3 separate regions of the Homo sapiens genome follow, and all the other regions are linked to region 2. The links are contacts of gene promoters, found by promoter capture Hi-C in blood cells and fetal thymus (Javierre and others, 2016). All regions are on one chromosome and are shown on one strand. The core of a region is centred on a gene start or on the middle of the fragment in contact, and the rest is flanking DNA. Distances in the headings are between cores, read along the strand shown.

Evidence for each region. The method cuts DNA at HindIII sites, captures the fragments that hold promoters and counts their contacts. A CHiCAGO score of 5 or more calls a contact.
Region 1: a contact is called between a fragment that was not itself captured here and the fragment with the promoter of CENPH in region 2, in 1 of 17 cell types (neutrophils). The highest score is 7.9, in neutrophils.
Region 3: a contact is called between a fragment that was not itself captured here and the fragment with the promoter of CENPH in region 2, in 2 of 17 cell types (neutrophils and total CD4 T cells). The highest score is 6.1, in neutrophils.

The regions. Positions count from the first base shown.
Region 1 is chr5:69,523,768-69,528,143 of GRCh38, forward strand. All of the region lies in intron 4 of OCLN (occludin), which reads left to right. Among named protein-coding and RNA genes, the nearest start is that of SNORD13B-1, 13 kb to the right of the region's middle. The HindIII fragment of the contact is 5,716 bases long and covers 1-4,373 here.
Region 2 is chr5:69,188,273-69,192,172 of GRCh38, forward strand. It overlaps CENPH (centromere protein H), which reads left to right and starts at 1,311. Exons shown (of 9, transcript NM_022909.4): 1 at 1,311-1,496; 2 at 3,523-3,578. The coding sequence starts at 1,363. LOC112267932 (a long non-coding RNA gene) reads right to left here and starts at 1,205. Exons shown (of 2, transcript XR_002956215.2): 1 at 719-1,205. RefSeq lists enhancers at 923-1,162, 1,090-1,384 and a silencer at 1,243-1,362. The HindIII fragment of the contact is 12,435 bases long and covers 1-1,885 here.
Region 3 is chr5:69,444,197-69,447,987 of GRCh38, forward strand. It overlaps MARVELD2 (MARVEL domain containing 2), which reads left to right. Exons shown (of 7, transcript NM_001038603.3): 7 at 1-134. Among named protein-coding and RNA genes, the nearest start is that of MARVELD2, 31 kb to the left of the region's middle. The HindIII fragment of the contact is 1,202 bases long and covers 1,337-2,538 here.

The DNA.
Region 1 (4,376 bases), core at 266-2,765, 340 kb after region 2:
TCAGGTGATCCACCCGCCTCAGCCTCCCAAAGTGCTGGGGTTACAGGTGTAAGCCACCGTGCCCGGCCAATGATTACCTTTTTAAAAACTGGACTTTAAGGCTGAGCACAGTGGCTGACACTTGTAATCCCAGCACTTTGGGAGACCAAGGTGCGTAGATCAGTTGAGGTCAGGAGTTTGAGACCATCCTGGCCAACATGGTGAAACCCTGTCTCTACTGAAAATACAAAAATTAGCTGGGCCTGGTGGCGCATGCCTGTAGTCCCAGCTACTCTGGAGGCTGAGGTGGGAAATCACCTGAACCTGGGAGGTGGAGGTTGCAGTGAGCCGAGATGTGCCACTGCACTTCAGGCTGGGTGACAAAGTGAGACTCTGTCTCTAAAAACAAAAACTGGACTTCAGGTGCACAGAAATAGATTAATTCAATTCTTAGTTTATGACATTATCACCTTTAGTCCATGCATAGCATTCCTGGTACATTTATTGTTTCATAATGAACACCTGCAGATCTACCATCCCACCTAATAATTACAATACATTACTAAGTTACATTATACATTTTTTACTCTCTCATCTACTTGCTTCTACCTGCCCCCAGAGGTAGCCTATCTAGAATTTTGAGTTTATTATAATTTGCTTTTTAAGTTTTTACCTGCATACATGTATAACTTAGCAACATGATTTTGTTTTGGGTGTTTTTTAACTTTGTAGAAGGTGTACCTGCATGTAGTGTCTTGGCATTTGCCTTTTTACGCAGAGTTAGGTTATAGATTAATACATGTTGATGGAGTTGAAGTCCATCTGATGTCGCCATTGTCTGGTCCTCTATTTTATCACATTTCACAGCAGTTTATCCAGTTTCCTTTTAATGGGGTTTTGGATTATTAAGACCATTACAACTGCCATGAACATTTTTATTTTTTATTTATTTATTTTTAAGATAGTGTCTTGCTCTGTTGCCTGGGCTGGAATGTAGTGGCATGATCTTGGCTCACTGTAACCTCCGCCTCCCGGGTTCAAGCAATTTTCCCACTTCAGCCTCCCAAGTAGCTGGGATTATAGGCGTATGCCACCACACCTGGCTAATTTTTGTATTTTTAGTAGAGACAGGGTTTTGCCATGTTGGCCAGGCTGGTCTCAAACTCCTGACCTCAAGTGATCCACCTGCCTTGGCCTCCCAAAGTTCTGGGATTACAGGTGTGAGTGTAATCCCGTGAATCCCGCCTGGCCCCATGAACATTTTTAAATCACCTATACTTGTGAACATTTCTCTTGGCTATGTACCTAAGAGTGGAACTTCTGGGATGCAGCGTTTGTGAGTGTACATTTCTTTCTTTTCTTTTCTTTTTTTTTTTGAGACAGGGTCTCGCTCTGTCACCCAGGCTGGAGTGCAGTGGTGCGATCTCGGCTCACTGCGAGCTCCACCTCCCGGGTTGACGCCATTCTCCTGCCTCAGCCTCCTGAGTAGCTGGGACTACAGGTGCCCGCCACCACACCCAGCTAATTTTTTGTATTTTTAGTCTAGACGGGGTTTCGCCATGTTAGCCAGGATGGTCTCGATCTCCTGACCTCATGATCCGCCCGCCTCAGCCTCCCAAAGTGCTGGGATTACAGGCGTGAGCCACCGTGCCTGGCCTGTGAGTGTACATTTCTATAAGACAATGTCAAATTATTTTTCATATATAATCTAAACCAGCAACTCTTGGTGGTGTTAGACTTTATAATATTTTCCAGTCAAACGTGTAAAAGTGTATCAGTGTTGTCTTGGTTTATATTTCTTCTGAACATGTCATGTTTATTGGCCTAATGTGTTTTCTCTTCTACTTTTTACCTTTTGGCAATTGCTGAGGTGGCAAAACTCAACCAGTTTCTCTGATACTCTTGATTTTTATAAGAGTTTTTATGGGGTAAAGGTCAACTTTTTATGAGGCATAGTCCTGAGGAAGTATAGTCTATTGCGTGATCATTAGTGTCCTTTTCACAAATGACTAACCCTTTATAGATATGACAAGCCAAAGTGCCTTCTCTCCTTTAGGGAAAGATGTGTTCCTTCCCTTTTCCATTGTGTTGATGGTATGATAGAGGTCCTTCTCAGGGCTGAGAATCAACTAATGTTTCCACTGTGATAAAAGTAGGTACCCTCAGCTGTTCTCATGCCGAGTGAACCTTCTCACCGTTTTTCTAGGTTATTTTATGACACCTGGACCAGAAAACCAGGCACTGTCAGGTTTGAGCATCACTGTAGGCAAAAGAGACCCTTAACTTGTAGGTCTTTACGAGGTACAGTGGTCTGCAACATAGAAGAGAATTGTGTCTACGTCAGTAGTTCTCAAACTTTTGCAGGCAACAGAATCACCTGGAGGGCTCATTGAAACAGCCCACTCACTCCCACCCTGGAGTTTATGATGTGTGCGCTAGGCCTGGCTGGGGCCTAGGTCGGTAATATTAATGTAGCTGGTCTGGAGACCATATTTCGAGAACCACTATTTTATAGATTCAAGCTGCAACCATTAAACTGTAAGCAAGTTATCATTACATCATGGCATACTTGGAAAATGGTGACTTAGTACAAAATACTGGAGTAAACTGAGGGGGATCTGGAACTGCAGATGATTGGCTCACAGGCTGGGCGACCAAAGACATCCTGGCACACCTGTTGAAAAACTCTGGCATGAGGTACAGGTATATTTAACAGTCTTCACAGGGATTTTTGTTTAAGTAAGGGGCCTTGAATGAGATCATTGGTAAGCCTCACTGAGTACAAGGTTTTTCTACCTCATCCCCTTCCAGAGCTCTAATAACTTATTGACTCTCAGGGAATTTCAGAATTTACCTTTGGTGGTGTCAACCTAAAGATTGACACAATTATAAATTTAGAAAGGATCTCCAGCTGTGAAAGAAAAAAGTAGAAAGGAGACTATTTATTATAAAGGGTTACAACCTGTAAGGTGGCCATCCTTGACAGTCTTGGAAGCGTAGCTTCTGGCAGACACTGAAAGGCACTTAGAAGGAGATGGAGTTGGGACAAGAGCTTAATGCTGAACAGGTTGGCCATACATTCCTATTCAACAGGTTATAGGAGGAGCTATGAATATCCGTGAATGGGGTCCTGATGCATGCGTAATGAACAAACATTCGTGTTACATACATCCCATGTTCACTTTGGGGTGGAGACTTAACATTTAAATGTATTACAATTAGGCCCTGTACATCAAAAGGTGAAGCAGGGGCCAGGCGCGGTGGCTCACACCTGTAATCCTAGCACTTTGGGAGGCCGAGGCGGGCGGATCACCTGAGGTCAGGAGTTCGAGACAAGCTGGCCAACATGGTGAAACTCCTTCTCTTCTAAAAATATAAAAATTAGCTGGGTGTGGTGGTGGGCGCCTGCAATCCCAGCTACTCAGGAGGCTGAGGCAGGGGAATTGCTTGAACCCAGGAGACGGTGGTTGCAGTGAGCCGACACAGTGCCACTGCACTCCAGCCTGGGTAACAGAGTGAGACTTCGTCTCAAAAAAAAAAAAAAGGTGAAGCAGGAACACAAGGCACTCACGTGCAGCCTCTGCAAGCTGGCCAGAACCATTCCACGGCTGCTAGTCTCTGATCAGGAGAAAGTTACTGAAATCAGTTTCTTGTCCAGTCAAAGCTGTATGGCTTGTGGAACAGGGGTCAGTCAGTATCTGTTGGTGGATGAGCTGCAGTTGTTTTCTTTTTGTATTTTTTTGTAAGTTTTTATTTTTAATTTTTGTGGGTACATAGTAGGCTTACGCAATTGCTTTAATCTTGCTTATCTTGAGGCCAGTGCTTGTTTGGCTGCTGGAGAAAAAGAGCAACCTTATGGTGGTTAGAACATAGTGTATGGTTAGGACAAATGTAGGGGTGTGGGATTTAACCCTTGTCTGGCATGGCCTTAGGTCTTATTTATAATTTGGTGTTTTATTGCCACAAAGAGTCTATTTCTATCAGTCTTGATGATCTCTATGTTAACATGAATGCTGGTCAGCTGTGTCTGAACCGCAGAAGGGAGGGAGTAAATGAGTTGTGTCTGACCTCCCATTCTGTCATGGCCAGGAACTCAGTTAAGATTTCTCTGGGGCACTCTTGGCCAAAAGGGGGTCTTCTCGGTTGGGGGCTTAGGATTTTATTTATAGTTCTCATTGGTCTATATTATTACTGTTTCTTTGGACAGCGTGCAGTTGGGTAGGGGCAATTTGTTTTCTAAATCCTAAATGCCATCTGAGCAAGGTAAAATAACCAGACATGTTCAAACCTGGTCCACGATCTCATTATTTGTGGGATTAGTAGATGTGGGACCGTCTGCCTTCAAGTGACCAAAGGTGGAGAAAAGTCTAAGAGAACTTTCCAGTCGATTTTGAAGC
Region 2 (3,900 bases), core at 61-2,560:
ATGTTGGTCAGGCTGGTCTCCAACTCCTGACCTCGAGATCCTCCCCCCTCGGCTTCCCAAAGTGCTGGGATTATAGGTGTGAGCCACAGCGCCCGGCTTTTTTTTTTTTTTTTGAGACGGAGTTTCACTCTGTCACCCAGGCTGAAGTGCAGTGGCGCGATCTCAGCTCACTGCAACCTCCGCCCCCCCGGGTTCAAACGATTCTCCTGCCTCAGCCTCCTGAGTAGCTGGGATTACAGGCGCCCGCCACCACACGCAGCTAACTTTTGTATTTTTAGTAGAGACGGGGTTTCACCATGTTGGCCAGGCTGGTCTTGAATTCCTGACTTCAGGTGATCCACCCGCCTCAGCCCCCAAAGTGCTGGGAGTACAGGGGTGAGCCACCACGCCCAGCGAATTTAACTTTTGTCAGGAGCCGTATTACATTGACAATGGAGAGGAAGAAAACAGCACAGTATGATCAAGTTTAACTAGTGGGTAATTAGCTGTAAAAGAACTCTCGACTCTTGTTCAAAGAGGTTCAAGCTGCTGTGCTTGTGCGGCAAGGACAGTGTCCAAATGAAAAACTACAAATCAGTCATCTGTCCTTCATTTTCTCCATTCCCCCCACTCACTACACAGCTAAGAAAGCTCAAAGGTACCCTGCAGACACTCAAAACTTGAGGGCACGCAACTCTCAGTTACGAGTGGTGGCAATCATAATGACAGAATGAAGTACCAGTGCAAGAAACTGGAAGCGTGTGGATGTCTCCAGGCTGGAAGTCTGGGTTCGAAATGTCTGCAATGCCTCGCACTTGTGGCCCGTCCCTGATCTTCAGAAGCCACTGGTTTCTCCGCCAAACAAAGGGTATGCACCTCATGGGCTCAGGTCAAAAAAGTCTTCTAAACAACCCTCTAATGTTTATCTTTCACAGCCTGCCGGGCACACCCATCTTCAAAGGCAGAGGACGGAAAAGTGCCAAGATGGATGGACATATGGCTGTCGCCGCACTCCCGTGTCCAAGCGCCAAGGCCGAATGACCACTTAGGTCAGGAGATTTTTCCCCTCCAGGCTGCTGTTCCCGGGAGATGTCCCAACGTCTCTAGTCCAGCCCCTAACTCAGCACTCTACACATCCGACGCTTAACGAAAGCTATTCCAACTTTTTACCAGCCGTCTGCAGTTATTTTCACCAGTAGAGCCCGGATGAAAGAGGAGCCCGTAGTAACCACGGCAACCGAAAAACAAGGCGGAAAGGGTGGGGCCCTGGGCGGAAGGGGCGGGGCCCTCGGGCCTTTTCCCGGCGTCCATTTAGTGGCGGGAAAAGCGACCTTTTCTGAGCGCGTTTGCCTGTTGAGTGGTAGCCTTTCCCCTCAACCAGCAATGGAGGAGCAGCCCCAGATGCAAGACGCCGACGAGCCCGCGGACTCCGGAGGGGAAGGCCGGGCAGGCGGGCCACCGCAGGTCGCCGGCGCCCAGGCGGCGTGCAGCGAGGACCGCATGACCCTGCTCCTCAGGTTGTTCCCTTTGGCCTCCTCAGCCGGGGCCAAGTGGGCGTTGTGGCCCGGAACTCCGCCCTTGCTCAGAAGGGCTAGGGTTCGAATTCACGCTCGGTCACGTCAGGTCTCCGTGATTGCCTCATTCACTTAAACTGTTGAAGCTCTTTCTTCATCAGCGAAAAGGAGAGAAAAATGACCCCCTGGAGAGAGGTTACAAGGGTTAAATGAGATAGTCTAGGAAAGTGTTGAGCACAGTGCCCCGGGCCCTTAGAAGCTGTAATTTCTCCTCCTGTTTCCCCGCCCTCCCCCTACCTCTCTGGTTTACAGACAAATTGAATGCCAGAGCTAAACTGGAAGGAAGGTGCCCCTACCATTTCTTTTAGAACTACGACCCTTTGTAACCCAGAAGCTTTATATGTTATAAATTCTACTAAGCGGACGGTGTTTATACTTTTCCACTAAGCGGTTGCTGGGGAAGATTCGATGAGAAGGGACATTCGTCTTCTAAACTAGTGAGCAGGAGAAGGTCCTGGGCCAAATCTGCCTAACTGCCTATTTTTGTGTGACCACTCAAGCTAAGAATAGTTTTTATGTTTAAGTGTTGCAGGGAAAAGATCATAAAAATATTTCATAACACGTGAACTCTATTAGAAATTCAAGTTTCAGTTTCCATAAACAGTTTTATTGGAGTACAACTTTCCTGCCACAAGGGTGGAATTGAGTAGCTAAAACAGAGACCGTGTGACTCACAAACCCTAAAAAATTTACTATCAGGTCCTTTACAGAAAAAAATTTGCGGTCCTCTGTTCTATATCATAACAGAGGTAGTTTTAAAAAAATCATTATTGGCTGAGCGCGGTGGCTCACGCCTGTAATCCCAACACTTTGGGATGCCGAGGCAGACGGATCACCTTAAGTCAGGAGTTCAAGACCAGCCTGGCCAACCATGGCCAACATGGTGAAACCCCGTCTCTACTAAAAATACAAAAATTAGCTGGGCGTGGTGGCGGGCGCCTGTAATCCCAGCTACTCAGGAGGCTGAGGCAAGAGAATTGATTGAACCCGGGAGGCAGAGGTTGCAGTGAGCAGAAGATTGTGCCATTGCACTCCAGCCTGGGCAATAGAGCAAGACTCTTGACTCAAAAAAAAAAAATTAATTACCATTTTTTTCTTTCTTAAATGTTTTGAAAAATGAAAAGATGTCTATTTCTTTTTTATTGTTTTTTCCTCCTCACCCTTGCTGTCATCTTAAATTACCATTTGCTCATAGTTTTTCTACTTATGTATGATTTTTGGATTTATAGAACAACTGAAAAACTATATGAATTAGTAATCCAAGGATTAGTATCTTTGTTATTTTTCTGTATCTCCTGATAAAAATCTGTGTTTGTAAATACAGTGGTTTGGGGTTTAATCATTTTGGTCTATTCTTTGTATAGCATCCTCAGTTCAGTCTGGCCTATTAAAAATAATCTTAAGCGGCCGGGTGCGGTGGCTCACGCCTGTAATCCCAGCACTTTGGGAGGCCGAGGCGGGTGGATCACGAGGTCAGGAGATCAAGACCATCCTGGCTAACACGGTGAAACCCCATCTCTACTAAAAATACAAAAAATTAGCCGGGCATGGTGGCAGGCGCCTGTAGTCCCAGCTGCTTGGGAGCCTGAGGCAGGAGAATGGCGTGAACCCGGGAGGCGGAGCTTGTGGTGAGCCGAGATTGCGCCACTGCACTCCAGCCTGGGCAAGAGTGCAAGACTCCGTCTCAAAAAAAGAAAAAAATCTTAAACACCAATTTTTTAACTTTTCCTGACAGATGCTGTTTTCCCAGTGTATTCCATTTTGTGTCTTCCTCTGAGGCCTTAAAGTTCTTTATACCCATTTTAAATAAAATGAGGCCAAATTAGAAGTTTGTAATTAGGAGTTTAATTATTTATATTTATTTTGTTGTATCAGCTTCCGAAAAAGAATGAGTTGGTTCGTCATGTGGTAATGAGTAAAACCTTAATCAATAAATATGTGACTTTATATTCTCTTTATCTGTTTTCAGGCTGAGAGCACAGACAAAACAACAACTCTTAGAATATAAATCAATGGTTGATGCAAGTAAGTATTTTCATTTTCAAATTAGGGTTTTGTTGTTTGTTTGTTTGTTTTTTTGAGACAGGGTCTTGCTATCACCCAGGCTGTAATGTAGTGGCGCAGTCTCTGGTTTACTGCAGCCTCAGCCTCCTGGGCTCCAGCAATCCTCCCACCTCAGCCTCCCAAGTAACTGGGACCACAGGCACATGCTACTGCGCCCGTCTAATTTTCTGTATTTTTTTTGTAGACACAGGGTTTTGCCACCACACCTGGCCTCAAATAAGATTTTGTGAGTTTGATGATTAACAGTACTCGAGTGAAAATAAAATTAACTTTACCAAAAATT
Region 3 (3,791 bases), core at 688-3,187, 260 kb after region 2:
AGTTTCAGTCACCTGCCGTGTGTGTGTGTGCCCTTTTATGTTTGCCTTCCTAGCATTCCTGTGTTCACTGTGCATGTTCTTGAAAATATTTTCACTTGTCAGAAAATAAACTGGAAAGTCATTGAAAACCCGTAGGTCACGATGCTCAGGTGACTCACTGTTTCTCCTTCCCCCATTATTCGCAATAATTCAAAGTCCAGGCCACTATATTAGTTTCCTAGGACTGCCATGACAATGTACTACAAACTGAGTGGCTCAAAACAACTGAAGTGTGTTGTCTCACAGACCTGCAGCCTAGAAGTCTGGAAGCAGGGTGTCAGCTGGGACATGCTCCCTCAAAAACCTGTAGGGGAGTCCTCTTCTAGTTTCTGGTGGTTTGCTGGCCATGTTTGATGTTCCTTGGCTTGTAGATGCATCTCTCCAATCCTCCATTCTCGCATGGCCTTCTCCCTGTCTGGCCATACCAGTCATATTGGATGAGAGGCCCACCTTCTCCAGCATGACCTCCTGTGAACTCATTACATTTGCTAGGACGCTATTTCCAAGTAAAGTCACGTTCTGAGGTACTGGAGGTTAGGAACTTCAGTGTTATCTTTTTGAGAGGCCACAGTTTAGCCTGTAATAGCTACATTTGGCAAGTTACAAGATTCAGAAGGAAAAGTACTTCCCTGTACATTTTCTTTCTTCCATATTATTTTTTCTTTTATTTTTTGTGATGGAGACTCACTCTGTCGCCCAGGCTGGAGTGCAGTAGTGTGATTGGCTCACTGCAACCTCTGCCTCCTGGGTTCAAGCTAGTCTCCTGCCTCAGCCTCCCAAGTAGCTGGGATTACAGGCACTCACCACCACACCCAGCTAAATTCTATATTTTTAGTAGAGACAGGGTTTCATCTTATGTTGGCCAGGCTGTTCTCGAACTCCTGACCTCAAGTGATCTGCCCGCCTCGGCCTCCCAAAGCAATTCCCCTGCCTCAGCCTTCCAAAGTGCTGGGATTACAGGTGTGAACCACTGCACCCAGCCCTTCCATATTATTTCAACATGTATTCTAATTTGAAAATTAATATGAGGATATGTCAGTATATCTAAAACTTGAAAAAAGTATATGCCAGTTATATGTCAAATGCTTTTATTGTCCCAGATATGTTAGCATTAAAGATACTGAAATCAGTGAAACAGGTAGAGACTTTGGGGGTGGTAATGAAGTACATATTTCTAGAAATTGTTTCTGATATTGAGATGCACCGACATTTGAAAGATACAACACAGGAAAAGTCTACAATTTTTTCTGACCATCTTTTTTTAACTATTATAATTTTTAAAAATAATGAGTATAAAAGCTTAGAAAACAAAAGTCCTACCAGTACCAATTCTATTCCCTGGCAGTATATACTGTTTGCAGTATACCCTCCCAGACCTTTGTGGTGTGTATAATCACCTTTATTTATTTATTTATTTATTTATTTTTACAAAAATGGCTTTAGACATTTTATTTTTGAGATGAAGTATTGCTCTGTCGCCCAGGCTGGAGTGCAGTGGCATGATCTTGGCTCACTGCAACCTCCCCCTCCTGGGTTCAAGTGACCCTCCCACCTCAGCCTCCTGAGCAATGAGGACTACAGACGCATACCACCACGCCCAGCTAATTTATGTATTTTTAATAGAGATGTGATTTTGCTGTGTTGGCCAGGCTGATCTTGAACTCCTGACCTCAAGTGATCTGCCCACCTTGGCCTCCCAAAGTGCTGGGATTACAGGCATGAGCCACCACACCTGGCTGTAAAATCACTTTAAAATTGTCTACTTTAATGCTTTCAATGGGTTTCTTTTTTGGGATTGTTGTTGTTGTTTTGATATGGAGTCTTGCTCTGTTGCCCAGGCTGGAGTGTAGTGGTGCTACCTCCGCTCACCACAACCACCACCTCCTGGGTTCAAGCAATTCTCCTGCCTCCGCCTCCTGAGTAGCTGGGATTACAGGCGCACACCACCATGCCCAGCTAATTTTTGTATTTTTAGTAGAGACAGGGTTTCACCATGCTGGCCAGGCTGGTCTTGAACCCCTGACCTCAAGTGATCTACCTGCCTTGGCCTCCCAAAGTGCTGGGATTACAGGCATGAGCCACCATGCCCGGCTGCTTTCAATGGGTTTTTAAAGGAGAGTATGACAGACCTGCTCGAGCATGTAATAGACTACTTGTCCTATAATAGACAAACTGGGGATAGGCAGAAGGCAGGAGGGATGGTTTAGCCCCGCAGAAGGCGAAGAAGGTGAACTTCTGAGCTCATCACAACCAAGACTCCATTTCTTACTATGTGGCCTTGACAAATTAACATCTCCAACCATCAGCCTCCTTAACTGTGATGTGGCGATAATACCACCTGACGAAATTGTTGTGAAAATTAAATAATGTAAAACACCACGAAGATACTTGCTCAATAACTGGTGGCTAGATACTCAAAATATACTTTTCATTGTGTTAAATAATAAGGTGGCTATAGACTATCAAAATGACTTCTTTTGAATAATAAAAGTTATAAAAAGCTTTTTTAAAAAGTATATAGGTAATATATTTATTATAGAAAATTGATTAGGTCAGGGGTGGTGGCTCATGCCAGTAACCCCAGCCCTTTAGGAGGCTGATGTGGGTGGATCACTTGAAGCCAGGAGTTTGAGAACAGCCTGGCCAACATGGCAAAAACCCTTCTCTGCTGAAAATACAAAAATTAGCTGGGCGTGTTGTCGCACACTGTAGTCCCTGGAGGTAGTCCCGGGAGGCTGAGGCACGAGAACCGCTTGAACCTCAGAGGTGGAGGTTGCAGTGAGCTGAGATCGTGCCACTGCACCCCAGCCTGGGCGACAGAGCAAGACTCTGTCTCAGAAAAAAAAAAAAAAAAGTACAAAAATTAGCCTGGTGTGGTGGTGCACGCCTGTAATCTCAGCTACTCGAGAGGTTGAGGCATGAGAATTGCTTGACCCCAGGAGGTGGAGGTTGCAGTTAGCTGAGACCATGCCACTGCACTGCAGCCTGGGTGACAGAGTAAGACTCTGCAGAAGGAAGGGAAGGGAAGGGAGGGGAGGGGAGGGGAGGGGAGGGGAGGGGGAAAGAGAAAGAAGAAAGAGAAAGAAGGAAGGAGAGAAAGAGAGAGGAAGGGAGGGAGGGAGGGAAAGAGAAAAGAAAGAGAAAGAAGAAAAGAAAGAAGAAAGAAAAAGAAGAAAAGAAGGAAGGAAGGGAAGAGAGAGAGAGAGAAAGGAAGGAAGGAAGGAAAGAAAGAAGAGAGGCCAGGTGCGGTGACTCACGCCTGTAATCCCAGTACTTTGGGAGGCTGAGGCAGGCGGATCAAGAGGTCAGGAGATCGAGACTGTTCTGGCTAACATGGTGAAACCGCGTCTCCACTAAAAATACAAAAAATTTAGCTGGGCTTGGTTGCGGGCACTTGTAGTCCCAGCTACTCGGGAGGCTGAGGCAGGAGAATGGCGTGAACCCGGGAGGCGGAGCTTGTAGTGAGCCGAGATCGCGCCACCACACTTCAACCTGGGCAACAGAGCAAGACTCAGTCTCGGAAAAAAAAAAAAAAAAAGAAAGTTATTTTGAAACTCCAACCTCTGATGATAGAATTCAGAATAGGGGTTACCTGTGAGAGAGGTTTATTGGCTGGGAAGGAGCATGAGGGAGCTTTCTGGGTACTATACCTTCATCTGGTTCGTTGCTTACCAGGATATATACATATTTAAAAATCCATCAAGCTAAGCATTTAAAATTGGTGCCTTTTACTGTACATATATTATACATGT